Regions from separate parts of the Homo sapiens genome. Here region 1 is linked to region 2. The links are contacts of gene promoters, found by promoter capture Hi-C in blood cells and fetal thymus (Javierre and others, 2016). All regions are on one chromosome and are shown on one strand. The core of a region is centred on a gene start or on the middle of the fragment in contact, and the rest is flanking DNA. Distances in the headings are between cores, read along the strand shown.

The links. Contacts are between HindIII fragments. The CHiCAGO score rates a contact against its expected background, and 5 or more counts as called.
Region 1: a fragment that was not itself captured here is called in contact with the fragment with the promoter of PPP2R3A in region 2 in 1 of 17 cell types (fetal thymus); the score reaches 5.2 in fetal thymus.

Annotation. Positions count from the first base shown.
Region 1 is chr3:136,858,106-136,865,092 of GRCh38, reverse strand. It overlaps NCK1-DT (NCK1 divergent transcript), which reads left to right and starts at 3,030. Exons shown (of 3, transcript NR_110177.1): 1 at 3,030-3,346. It overlaps NCK1 (NCK adaptor protein 1), which reads right to left and starts at 2,885. Exons shown (of 4, transcript NM_001291999.2): 1 at 2,740-2,885. RefSeq lists enhancers at 2,017-2,136, 2,147-2,226, 3,287-3,346, 3,907-3,956 and a silencer at 2,867-2,926. The HindIII fragment of the contact is 1,182 bases long and covers 3,934-5,115 here.
Region 2 is chr3:135,961,753-135,969,023 of GRCh38, reverse strand. It overlaps PPP2R3A (protein phosphatase 2 regulatory subunit B''alpha), which reads right to left and starts at 3,296. Exons shown (of 14, transcript NM_002718.5): 1 at 3,175-3,296. RefSeq lists silencers at 2,820-3,099, 3,230-3,459 and an enhancer at 2,904-3,722. The HindIII fragment of the contact is 2,094 bases long and covers 2,392-4,485 here.

The DNA.
Region 1 (6,987 bases), core at 3,275-5,774, 890 kb before region 2:
CCAGCTACTGGGGAGGCTGAGGCAGAGAATTGCTTGAACCCGGCAGGCAGAGGTTGCAGTGAGCCAAGATCCCGCCACTGCACTCCAGCCTGGGCAACAGAGTGAGACTCCGTCTCAAAAAAAAAAACAAACAAAAGAAAAAGAAAAATATATATATATACAAAAAAATTAGCTAGGCATGGTGGCACACACCTGTAGTCCCAGCTACTTAGGAGGCCGAGGCACAAGAATCGATTGAACCCGGGAGGCAGAGGTTGCAGTGAGCCAAGATCGTGCCACTGCACTCCAGCCTGGGCAACAGAGACTCTGTCTCAAAAAAAAAAAAAAAAAAGAAAAGAAAAAAACCCAGAACCATGAAGTATCACTAAGTATCTCTTTTCTTTATTATTTTCCTTTTTAAATTTTTTTATATTTTCTTAATTTAGAGACAGGGTATCACTACATTGCTTAGGCTGATCTCAAACTCCTGGCCTCCAGCTATCCTCCCGCCTTGGCCTCCCAAGTGCTGGGATTACAGGCTTGAACTACCCCGCCTGGTCTCCCTCAGTATCTAACAAAACATTACACATAGGTTTTTTTTGTTTCTGTTTTTTTTTTGTGTGTGTGTGACGGAATCTTGCTCTGTTGCCAGGCTGGAGTGCAGTGGCGATCTTGGCTCACTGCAACCTCCGACTCCCGGGTTCATGCAATTCTCCTGCCTCAGACTCCCGAGTAGCTGGGATTACAGGTGCGTGCCACCACGCCCGGATAATTTTTGTATTTTCAGTAGAGACGCGGTTTCACCGTGTTGGCCAGGCTGGTCTCGATCTCCTGACCTCGTGATCCGCCTGCCTCGGCCTCCCAAAGTGCTGGGATTACAGGCGTGAGCCACCGAGCCCGGCCAACATTACACGTAGGTTTCAAATTTTATTTAGATGGACCTGAAAGCACTGCAGAAACCTGGACAAAGGATAATGCCTAGAAAAATAAATACACATTTTATTTATTTTTTTGAGACGGAGTCTCGCTCTGTCGCCCAGGCTGGAGTGCAGTGGCGCGATCTCGGCTCACTGCAAGCTCCGCCTCCCGGGTTCACGCCATTCTCCTGCCTCAGCCTCCCGAGTAGCTGGGACTATAGGCGCCCGCCACCACGCCCGGCTACTTTTTTGTATTTTTAGTAGAGACGGGGTTTCACCGTGTCTGCTAGGGTGGTTTCAATCTCCTGACCTCGTGATCCGCCCGCCTCAGCCTCCCAAAGTGCTGGGATTACAGGTTTGAGCTACCCCGCCTGGACTCCCTCAGTATCGAACAAAACATTACACGTAGGTTTCAAATTTTATTTAGATGGACCTGAAAGCACTGTCAAAACCTGGACAAAAGATAATGCCTAGAAAAATAAGTACACATTTTAAAATTTAATACATGAGCCAACAGCTGAGTAGATGTGAACACTCTGCAAACTATGTTTATGGATATTACAGCCAATTTCCACAGATCACAATTTTCCCAAAGAAGTCTCAGAGTTTGTGGTCAAGATGAAAAGAAAGCACCATTTATCAACCAGTGCATATTACTATCAAGTTGTGAATGGGATGCCTATTTAAGAATATCACAGACTCCACCCCCCACAAGAAAATTAAGTGTTTTAAAAAGAAAAGAACGAATATTATTGACAATTACCAAACAAAACTTTCTTCTTAGGTTATTTCTCCGTTTACTGTGTGACCTCGCCGAAGGCTGAGAGTCTAGGCACACTGGTTTCCAGGTGCTGAAGAAATCGTTATAGTTGGTTTGTCATACGTCTATCAAAGTAAAATTTTAAAAATGAGTACCTTTTGGCAACACCCGTTTTGGGAGGACATTGAGCTGCTTTGCTCCCTACCCAAAGAGGAGTTAGGAAATTCTCTTTAACCTAATTCTTTCCTAATTTCTAGGGCTTCTTACCTAATCTAACGTGCATAATTATTTTCAGGTGACTCCGGGTCCATCAGTTTGACACCGAGAGCGTTCCTACGGTTACGTCCTCACCCCTGAACAAAACCCAGCTTCCTGAGCTTCTAACGGCGAATTTAACTTGTATGTTAATACAGAAGAAAGGTTACAAAACCTATCGAAATGGTTTTTTGTTTTACCAAACATATTACAACTCAAGTCAAAAGTTCACAGCCCCAGCAACTCGCGTACGAATCTGAAGCAGGTCCAGACCATTAAAGTCACAGCCCCAGACTAGAAAACGGCCGGTGGGTGGGGGGAGGGGAGAGGGCGCGTCCCGAAGATGTCCACCCGCAGCACCGCGCAGGCTGACGCCTCCCCTCCTCTCGGGCTGGAGGTGAGAGCGCCCTTCCTCCTACCACGTCCCTACCTTCCCGGCCTCGGATTACGCCACAGCTGGCAAAAGGACTTTTTCATGAGAAAACAGACAAGTCAACCAGCGCGCCGCACACTCGACCTCCCAGGCTCGCACGGGCGGCCGCCCGGGCTCTCAGCCCGACACAGCGCTCCAGGGGCTGACAAGGAGGCCGCGGGGTCACGCTCCCTGGGGCAACGGCCCGAGGGTCTCGCGGAATCCCGGTGCAGAAGTCTGGACCCTCCGAGCAGCCTCCGCGCCCCCTCCGGCTCGGCTCCGAGCCTGCAGACGGCGCCCCCGGGGCTAACTCAGCGCGAGAAGAGGAAGCGACGCAGCGAGTAACAGGCTGTATGGACGGACAGCGGACTGAAGGGGGGTGTGTGTGTGTCTGCCTGCCAACAAGGCCGTCTCACCTTCCCGCTGCCGAGCCGGGCAGCTCCAGCTCACCTGAGGAGGGCTCCAGGACGCCACTGCGGCCGCCGTGATGGCCGTAACGGCACGAGGCCTGCGCTCCGCCGCCGCCGCGTAGCTCTTGGGAGAGAGGCGGGGCACGCGCGGTGGGCAGGCGGATCCGCGCGGGCAGGAAACCCACTCTGGACCCAATCTGATAGGTTCAGTCGCCCCCTTCCCCGGTCCCTGACGCGACAACGGTCTCTGCCGCACTGGGATTGGGCGGGCCCTCATGTCAATCAAGCGCCGTGCCTGATGTGGAGGGAGCGGAGGCTGCGCGGCGGAGAGTAGAGAGCTAGAGGGTGAGAAGCGCTGGGCCGGACCAGAACTGTCTTAGCTTTTCCCTCTGCGGCTGCTCTGGTTGGTTACTTTGAGCCTGCCTCCTCAGCGCCGCAGGAGAGACTTAACAGCAAAAATGACTGTGTCCTGAGTTCAGCCCCCACTGCTCTGGGAGCTTCCCCCTGGTTTCTGCACCTGAAGAATGTCATCCCAGCCGAAGGTTCTTAGGAGCGGGGAGCGACAAAGAAAAACAAAGAAAAGCAGACCTGAAAATTGGGACCTGGGAGAAATGTAAGACATGTGCTTAATTTGAGGCACAGACCAAAAGAAGCTGAGTCTGAGGGCCCTCTAAAAGTGTCCTCGTGCTTGGGCAGCTTACATTCTTGGCGGCAGTAGTGTTATGAAGAGGACCTTCGGAGCCAGGTCTGTCCATTCTTAGGGCTCCAGCCACTGGCTGAGGCATCAGTAAGTTGGTTCTTCCCCTCGCCGGTGCTGCAGGCCCCCTTCCCCGCCCCCGCGCCGTAACCTGCCTCTTTTTTTTTTTTTTTTGAAACGAGTTTCGCTCTGTCGCCAGGGTGGAGTGCAGTGGCACGATCTCGGCTCACTGCAACCTCCGCCTCCGGGTTCAAGCTATTCTCCTGCCTCAGCCTCCCGAGTAGCTGGGATTACAGGCATGTACCACCACGCCCAGCTAATGTTTTTGTATTTTTAGCAGTGACGGGGTTTCACCAGGATGGTCTCGATCTCTTGACCTCGTGATTCGCCAGCCTCGGCCTCCCAAAGTGCTGGGATTACAGGCGTGAGCCACCACGCCCAGCCGCCTCATCTCTTCTTAACCATCTTTGTGGCACAGTTTAGGATCGCTCCTCAGGGAAGCTTGCTCAGTTAGGTACCTTCCTTGGAGCACAGGTGTTTTCTCCATCCGAGCTATTGAAATGGTTTGCCTGTATGTCTACCTAGATTGTAAACTCCGTTGAATCAGTAACCATGTCTGTTCAGTTTCTCCCTAGGGCCTTGCAGTAGGGTAGATGGTCAGTAAATACTGTTTAAGGCATTAATACTTTTTATTTTAATCCTGGCCCTGGATATCAGCCTCAAAAGTTTGCAGTTTTCTGCATTTAACTTCAAAATTATTTACGTGATTGGTAATGCATGCATGTGGTTGGCCTGTGCTGTAATTTAGATGTTTGTTCCCCTAAACCTCCTGTTGAAATTTGATCCCCAATGTTGGAGGTGGGGACTAATGGGCAGTGTTGGGTCATGGAGGTGGTTCCTTCAGGAATAGATTAATGTCCTCCCTGGGGAGAGGGTAAATGAGTTCTCTTTATTTCCACCAGAGCTGGTTAAAAAGAACGTCGCACTTCCTTTCTTCTTTTGCGTCCTCTCTGGCCATGTAATCTCTGCACACACCAGCTCTCCTTTGCCTTCTGGCATGAGTAGAAGCAGTCTTAGGCTACCATCAGATGCAGATGCTCAGTCTTGAACTTTTCCAGACATCAGAACCATAAGCCGAAAAACCTTTTCTATTTCTAAATTATCCAGCTTTGGGTATTCCTTTCTAGCAACACTAAAGGGACTAAGACAGCCTGCCATATGTAGGATCACAAGGTCAAGCACAAATTTACCTATTTATGCTGTACTATCCTCAGGTTGACTGGGACAAGTAGACCATGAAACTGGGCAACAGCTACTCTATGTCTACATTCTGTTATTAGCATCCAAAGTGAATAATGGCGGTGAATTTTGAGTTTATTCTAAGGGTTTAAATAACTGCATATTTTATCATGACTGGTATGGACTGAATTGCATCCCCCCCAAAAATTCATACTGAAGCCCTCACTCCTAATGTGACTATATAAATGTTCCTTAACTTACAAAGGGGTTATGTTCCAATAAACCCACCATAAACTGAAAATACCTTAAGTTGAAAAGATCTTAAGTCAGAAATGCATTTAATGCTTCTAACCTACCAAACATCATAGCTTAGAGTAGCCTACCTAAAACATGCTCAGAATACTTACATTAGCTTTCAGTTAGGCAAAATCATCTAATACAAAGCTTATTTTTTAATAAAGTATTGAGTATTTCATGTAATCTACTAAATACTGAATGAAAAACTGGATGGTTTTATGGGTACTCAAAGTACAGATTCTAGAGTGCATATGGCTTTTGGACCATCATAAAGTCAAAAAAATCTTAAGTCAGGGACCATCTCTAGTTGGAGCTAGGCCTTTAGGGAGGTAATAAAAATTAAATTAGGTCATAAGGGTGGGGCCCTAATCCCATAAGATTAATGTCTTTATAGAAAGTGGCACCAGAGAGCTCTCTCCATTTGAGAACACAGCAAGCAGACAGACATCTGCAAGCCAGAGAGAGAGCCCTCACCCAAAACTGACCATGCTGGCACCCTCTTTTGGACCTCCCAACCTACATAACTTTGAAAAAATAAACTTCTGTTGTGTAAGCCACCCAATCTAGTATTTTATTATGGCAGCCCAAGCTAATACAATGGTTTTATTTGTTGATACATTTTATAAAGTTTACAGACTGAGATATTATATTCATTTTTGAAGAAACTTGTCCAGAGTTAAAACTGTTGCTGCAAAATCACCCATCAAACTGTTAGCACAGCGTGACTCAATTTTAATTCTAATTACATATTTAACATACGATGGAGGCAGAAGGTGTGAATATAAATACAACAGGTAAAATACAGAAATACAGTTCTTGCCTTCATGTAGCTTACCACCACCTTAAGTGGGGAAAATTAACCCAGCAAAAAGTATGCTGAAGTCATACATTTAGGGTTTTTGTTTGTTTGTTTGTTTTTTGAGATGGAGTCTCGCTTTTTTGCCCAGGTTGGAGTGCAGTGGCACCACCTCAGCTTATTGCAACCTCCACCTCCCGGGTTCAAGCAATTCTCCTGCCTCAGCCTCCCAAGTTGCTGGGACTACAGGCACACACCACCACACCTGGCTAATTTTTTGTATTTTTAGTAGAGACGGGGTTTCACAATGTTGGCCAGGCTTGTCTCAAACCCCTGACCTCAGGTGATCCACCCACCTCAGCCTCCCAAAGTGTTGGGATTACAGGCGTGAGCCACAGCACCCAGCTAGTTTATCCTCTTAATTTTCCTTCTTTAATCTTTCTCATCACTCATTCTTAACAGGAACTCTTTAAAAAAATTTAAGAAACCTCCAAAAATATATGCAAAAGAGGAGTCAAAGAAGAAAAATAAGCAAACAGCAATGAAAAAGGAAAGCATAGACTGGAAGGGCAGATAGGCAGAAAGGCATGTATGTAATTGCACTTAGAAGGGATGCAGTACATGTTTTAATGGGGTGGGAGCTGTCCCAGAGACTTCCTTTCACACAGTCTGTCTCCCCAGCTTCCAAATATAAACATGCACATGGCTGCTGCTTCCTCTCTTTCAGGGGAACTCAAACCAAAAACAGGAATCATCCTTGCTAATTAGTGCTGAGTGGATCAGGGACTAACCAGAATCAGGCAACAAGAAAATGTAAGTCAAAACTTATGATCAGCCCTGGCAACAGAGCTAGACCCTGTCTCTACAAAACAAAATTTTTTTTAATCAGCTGGGCATAGTGGCATGTGCCTGTAGTCCCAGCCACTCTGGAGGCTGAGGTGGGAGGATGGCTTGAGCCCAGGAATTTGAGGCTGCAATGAGCTATGATCACACCACATCTCAAAACAAAAACAAAACTTATCTAGGGACTACACGTGGAGCTTTGGATATGGGCAGCTAATCTGTCTATGATTAAAAACACGCAGGTGGCTTACTTTATTAATCCAAAATAAAAGAATTTGGGAACACAAGAAAGGGAAAAATGAGCCTCCATGTCAAGACCTTTCCCAGAAACCTGATAGCTTATAGTTAGAAATTGTTATAGACAGTCCAGTGCAAGGAGGAC
Region 2 (7,271 bases), core at 2,047-4,546:
ATATGAAACAGCATATTCGTAGCACTGTTTACGGTAAATTACTGGAAACAATCTAAATGTCTGTCAGTGGGGGAATGGTTAAATAATCTATGGTATATCCATACAGTGAAATACTGTACAGTCATTCAAAAAAATAAGGAAACTATATACTGAAGTGGAAAGATTCCCAAGACATTTTTAAGAAAACAGAGTGTACAGTATGCTACCATTTGTGTAAAACAGTAAGAGGAAAGATATGCATTTCCTTGAATGCCCACAAAAAATGTCTACAATGATATACAAAACTAGTATCAGTGGTTATTCCTTTGGAAGACAGGGAAAATGGTAGCTGGGGGAGGGAGCAGAACCCACCAAAAATGCTCTGATTTGCTTGGAGGAGGGCCCAGGCGTCGGTCTTAAGTTCTGGTGGTTCTGATGAGAGTGTTGGACTGAGAACCACTGCTTAGTGGACAGCCTTTGCCTATTTTCCTAGCTTCATTTTGTGTCATCACTCTCCGTGTTCCTGGCTTCTGGGTTCCCAAAAGCGGCCCTGTTCCTTTCTTCCTCAAGGTATTCACATCTGTTCCTTCTGCCCGGAATATTGTTCCCGTGAGCTTCACCTAGTAACTCCTGTTAATCCTTCACCGTCCACCTCAAAGGTCACTTCCCCATGGAAACTTTCCCCAGTTTCCAAACTACATCAGGACATCTGTTTTATGCACTCAGAGCTGCCTGTACTTCTCCCAGAAATTAACACAATCGTAATGAGATAAATGTATATTTATGCATGTATACATCTGTCACCCTCCTTAGACTATAAGGTCCAGGCATGCAAAGTTGTTTTTACTAATCTATTTCCATACCTAATCTAGTGTCCAGTTGGCAAAACAGGCCTTCAGAAATCTGTTAAATAAATAACTGTTCCCGCCCTCAAGCTTAGTATAGTAAACACCTAAGCAAATGAGGACAATGCTGCGTCACTAGTGTTAAGGCAGCAGTCTGCTCACAACAGTGGTTCTTAACTAAGGGTGATTTTGGTCCTCCTGGGGGACATTTGCGATGTCTGTAAGCATTTTTGATGTTCACAACTGTGTGTGTGGAGTGCTACTGGTATCTATTCCTCAGTAAAGGTTAGAAATGCTGCTAAACATCCTACGCTGCACATGATAGCCCTCCACAACTAGAAATTACCTGGCCTAAAATGTCAACAGAACTACAAATGAGAAACTCTGACTCAGAGGACGATAACACTCAAAAGAGCTGTCAATTGCACTTCTGAGGGTGGTGATTTTTAAATATCTGTTTTCTTTTTGGGGGATGGGGGGTGTCAAGCAAAGCTTCAGGGCAGAGGTGAAGCTTCAGCTGTGTGTTTGAAAGGTAACAGGGGCCAGATCAGTGGGGACTATGTTTGTCAGGAGCAAGGAGGAGTCTCTGAAGAGTTTAAAAGCAAAGTTATGATTTGAACAGGTGCCCCCAAGTACCCTATACTCCAAAATTATTCATTTCCTTTTTTCCTTTCTCGCTGAAACAAAACTTCCATTCTCTCAGAGTAGCTGGTTTCAGCTGAACATTAAGGCCAAATTAATTCAGCCCAAGATAAAGTCAGATAGGCCCTTCACTCTCCAGAATGTTAAGCTACATTTTAAAATATGCAAATACTTATGAGTACAAATAAATCTTTAACTGCTCAATGTTCAGGTTGTCAGTGCATAAAGCTATTTTTGAACTCAACAGCCAGATTGGCCCCAGTAACACTTTCCCAAAGCTTTGTTTTTTAAAAACCTTTTTGATCTGTTTCCCCGTTCTCCTAGAAATCTCCTAGATTTCTGAGCTCCTAGATTGTATAAAAGATCTAAGTTTTTTTCCACAAGTATCTCATGCCATTAAGTTCTTCTGCCAGAGGTGATAAAAGGGCCATTTGGATGCAATAAATGTAAATAAATTGTGTGTGTAAATTAGCAGTGGCTTAGAAAATTTTTAAAAGGCTTTCATGGACTACTGAAAGAAACTGAGATAATTTTTAACATACCACCAAGAAAAAAAAACAACAGTTTTACTACAACACAAGCCGGCTGCCTACTGAACTGGACGCCCATGCTCTGACCTAGTATGGCAATTCTTAGGGTCTAGGCGCTGGGTTCTGTTTACAAGAAACTAAGGCCTGAGACTAAGGAAGAACAAAGAAAAATGCCTGGCACCAAAGGTGTGGGGGATGTTTTGTACATAAATGAAGATTTGAGGAGGAATACTTCCTCAGATGTTGGAAGGAATTACTCTTTTTTTGCTTACGTGTTAAGAATTTAATGTTTTCAGGCCATTTCCTAATTAGAAAATACCTTATAATTTACAAACAATAATTTGTCTTCCCCTACATTTGCTGACCACCAAGACTGGATAAAATTTCCTTAAGCTTTACCAGAGTGGGAGGACTGGGAATAACGGGAGCACAACAGAGTTCGGATGCAACATCAACTCCAAGCCCGGCCAGCTGGTTTCCATCGAGAGGTCCCCCAGGAGAACGCCCCTCCGCGGCGGCGGCGGCCAGGTCGGCGCGGGAGAGACCCACCGAGGCGCTCCAGCGCGGCCGCGGTGCAGGACCAGGGGCCGCCCGGCCTCCGTTTACCTTTGTTTCAGGTACCCCGGCTCCTGGCGGGCCGGGAATCCCGTCCGCGGCCCGGAGCTGGTGACACATCCTTCTTTGGCCAAGTCGGGCCGAGGTTGGGCAGGGGGCGGGGAAGGAAAAGAAAGCCTCAGCGCCTAACGACGTGACTCTCAGTTCTTCCAAAACGCTGGCATTTGTTTCTCTGCCAGGCTTTCCTGTTAACAAGTTCCCGAGGGCTGTGCGGGCGAACTGGCCCAGGAGCCCTGAAAAGTGGGAGGGCCCAGGCCGCCCCCGCCTACCCTCCTCCGCGGGCGCCCCTGGGGCAGGCAATTTCCACACCTCCCTGGTGCCGTGTCCCGGGACCGGCCGGCCGCGCCGAGGCAACGCACCGCACCGCACCGCACCGACTGGAATTCCGACTTCCACAGCCCAATCAGCTCCGTGTGGCCCCTCTGGCCAGGCCGGTCCCCGCCCCCAGGTCCCGGCCCCGCCCGCCCCGGCCTCCGCGCGCCGCCCCGAGCCTCGCCACCCCCTCGGGCCGGGACGAGGGAGCTGAAGGCTCCAGGCCGTGCGGCCAGTGTTCCTTTGCCTACCTCGTTGCCCGCGGCTCCTCCTCCGGCGGCTCAGCTCGCGGGCAGCGCTTGCCTCCAAGCCTCCCCGCGGCGCGGACTCTCGGGCTACGAATGCGGCGCGTGAAGAGCGGAGGCCCGAGCGCGCCCCGCCCAGCCACCCGCAGGCCCCTACCTCCTTCTCCTCCTCCTCCTCCTCCTCCTCGGCCCCACCCTCGGCGGCCGGCCCGCCCGGAGCCCCGCCCACGCGCCAGGCCCCGCCCACTCTCCGGCCCCGCCCCCAGCCTACGCCCCGCCCCTCTGGCCAAGGCAGGAAGGGGGCCTCCAGGGGCGCCGCGAGAGCCGCTGTGGCCTCGGCGAGGGCAGTCTCCTGTATGGCGGCGCCGCGGGGATGCGATTCGTGGTGGTCGCTGCTGTTTGACAGATTCGAGTCTCTTGCTCGGATTTATTACTGTTATTGTCATCGTCAATATTGTCATCGTTGTTATTGTTATCGTCATTAGTTGTGTTGCCCTCTTCAAGGGGCCTTCAAGGAGGCCCCTTGAGGGCAGCGCGCTGCTGGCCAGACATTCCCTGGCGCTCCTGTCTTCCCACAGTCCTGCACCTGCGCCACATTTCACTCAGCCCAAGAAGTTGTGTGAATTTTAAAAGAAGTGATACTTATTTTTAACTGTTATTGTTAACTGTTACTGTTAAATAAAACACAAATATAGACAGCCATATAAAACCAATGTACAGCTTAATGGATTATTCCGATACACACACCCTTATAACCACTCGCCAGATTTATTAATAACACCGTGTAATATGGTCTGCTCTGAAACAGAACCTCATTAATAGCTGGAAGGACATAGCCTGGAAGGGCCTCCCAAAATTGCCCTCCTTCTAACTGCCACAGTACTCAAATGTGACAGGTCCATAATCATGCCCTCTCCAAGAATATATTTGTAAAATGGAAATTTCTCCAGAATTAGGAACCTCCAATTGAGTATCTTCGTAAAAATCTTGATAAAATGATAAATCTATAAATATATAAGCATATAAATAACAATAAATAAGTCAATCAGTTGGGTTGAATACCATGAGTAAGGAGCATGGGGGTGGGGGATGGGAGGTATGTAAAGACTTAAAAGGATTAGGTGGGCTGTGAGGACAGGTCCTGGGCACCTGGGTTGTTCTCACTGTCTCCCCAGCACCTAGCATAGCACCAAGCATATACTAGGTGCCATATGTGTGTGTGTATATATGTGCATTGTACATATATGCACATATATGTGTGTGTGTGTGTATAGCACAAGGAAAGAAAAAATTATGTAAGATAACCCCAAACAAGCTTTACATACTGAAATTTCACCCAAGGTCAATCCTCCCAGTAGCTAAAGTGTGCTCTGTGAGATGCCTTGATGCCCTAGAGAGAAAGAGACCATTTTACTTTCAACTTTCTACTGCTTTTCCATTTCAAAAGCCCTTTCACATGCATATGGTATCTTATTTGAGACTGAGAGCAACTCTGTGAAAAATGCAGGGCAGGATAGGACTCTGCAAAGGTCACAGTGCAATGCATATCAGTAAGAAGGAAAAGTACACAATGTACCATAAAACAATGTTAAAACTGCTGACCCTGGCAACCTGGATTCTTGGTTTGTCTCAACAGTTTTATTGCCAATGTTTTTACATTAGGGCTCCTTTGGCCCTTTTGCCATGCATTTATACACATTATAACTTGAATGTATAAAGGACACAATACGTGACTGGAAATTTGATTCAATACAATAGAGTTAGTCTCTCTGTCATGAGGACCATGGTGAATTGGGGCTAGAGAGTTGCCAATTCACCACAATGTATTGAGTACTCAGACTGTACTAGGTGGTAGGAATACAAATGATATAAAATAAAGAAGATACAGGGGCTGGGCGTGGTGGCTCACGCTTGAAATCCCAGCACTTTGGGAGGCCAAGGAGGGTGGATCACCTGAGGCCAGGAGTTTGAGACCAGCCTGGTAAACATGGTGAAAACCCATCTCTACTAAAAATACAAAAATTAGCCAGGCGTGGTGGCACGCGTCTGTAATCCCAGCTACTCAGAAGGCTGAGGCGGGAGAATCACTTGAACCCGGGAGGTGGAGGTTGCAGTGAGCCGAGATCTCTCCATTGCACTCCAGCCTGGGTGATCAGAGTGAAACTCTGTCAATCTTTGTTCTCAAGGAGCTTATGGCCAAGTAAGGGAGAAAGATTTGAAAATAAATGTTTAAATTACATGACGGTAGGGGAGCAGTCATGAGCACAATTAATTCTATGAGGTATAGGAAGAGAGTAGGGCAAGTCTTATTAGACAAGAAAACATCTGAAATTTTTTTTAGTATAAAAATATCAAATATTGAAAACAGAGACAGAATAATATAATTAACTACTATGCACCCATTACTTGGCTTCAACAATTATCCCATGACCAATTTGTTCCATCTGTACCCTCACCTTTTCTTTCCCTCCTTGGATTATTTTAAGGCAAATCACATGGAGCATTATTATTTCATCCATAAATATTTCACTATGCATCTCTAAATGATAAGGTCTATTTTTAAAAACAACCACAAAATCATTAAATTGTCTTTTAAAGTAATAATTTATTAACATCTAGACAGTGTTCAAAATTTCCCAATTTTCTCATAAATGTTTCATGTAGTTTACTTCTTCCAGTCATGATCCAAACAAGTTCCTCACAATGCATTTGGTTAAAATGTCTTACACCTTTTTCTTTCCTTGTACTTTTATATTGAAGAAATAGATTGTTATAAGGAGTTTCCCACATTCTGCATTTTGCTGATTGCTGTGATGTTCTTTAACATGTGCCTCTAACCTTGTATTTCCCATAAAGGATAGTTACTAGAGGCTTGATCAATTTAGAAAAGTATAACCCATAATGAATAGAAAAATCAACAAATCAAAAATAGACCAGAACTATCACAGATGTTAGAATTAGCAGAGAAAGACATTAAAACAATTACTATGGCTGGGCATGGTGGCTCAAACCTGTAATCCCAGCGCTTTGTGGGGCTAATATGGGTGGATTACCCGAGGTCAGGAGTTTGAGACCAGCTTGACCAACATGGTGAAGCCCCGTCTCTACTAAAAAATACAAAAAAATTAGCCGGCCATGGTGGCAGGCGCCTATAATCCCAGCTACTTGGGAGGCTAAGGCAGAAGAATCGCTTGAACCCGGGAGGCAGAGGTTGTGGTGAGCCGAGATCGTGCCACTGCACTCCAGCCTGGGCAACAGAGTGGCTCCATCTCAAACAAAAACAAAAACAAACAAACAAACAAACAAAACCACAATTACTATAACTATATTCCAAATGCCAAAAAAGTTAAGTACATATTAAAAAGGGAAGATGTAAAAAAGACACAAATTGTATTTCTATAGTTGAAGACTATAATGTCTAGAATAAAAATACATTAGATTGGATTAATGGCAAATTAGACATTACCAAAGAAAAGATTAGTCACATCAATAGAAATTATCCAAAATGAAACACACAGAAAGAGAAATGTTAATGAAAAGAGCATCAGTGAGCTAAAGAGCAACTACAAGTGGCCTAATATGTGGAATCTCCAAAGGAGAGGAGTGAAGACAAAAAGTATCTGAAGAAATACTAGCCAAAAGTTTCCAAAATTTATGAAAACTATATACTCACAGATCTAAGAAGTGCAACAGACTTCCAATTTCCAGTACAGCAGACGATAGACTTACATCCAACCATATCAATAGTCATATTAAATGTGAGACTTCTGGTTCCAAAATGGCAGCATAGAAGCAAGCCGGCTCCCCCTTTTCCCCAGAAAAAGAAGACCAAACCCAAATACACAACACCAAGATTACCATCAATAATATCCCAAAACTGAAATATGAGGATGAGACAGTTTGCAGGGTCACAAAGAAGTGAAAAAGCTCCAAGCAGATGGTAAGAGAATGACTTCCATGTTCAGGATGCCCCTCCCCCTATTCTGTCCAGCACCAAGCATTCAAAAAGTTTCCTCCTAAATCAGTTTATACACTGGAAAAAGTGAGATCACGGTGGACAACCAGCTCCCCACCATCTTGGGATCCTTGGCAGGAGACTTGTC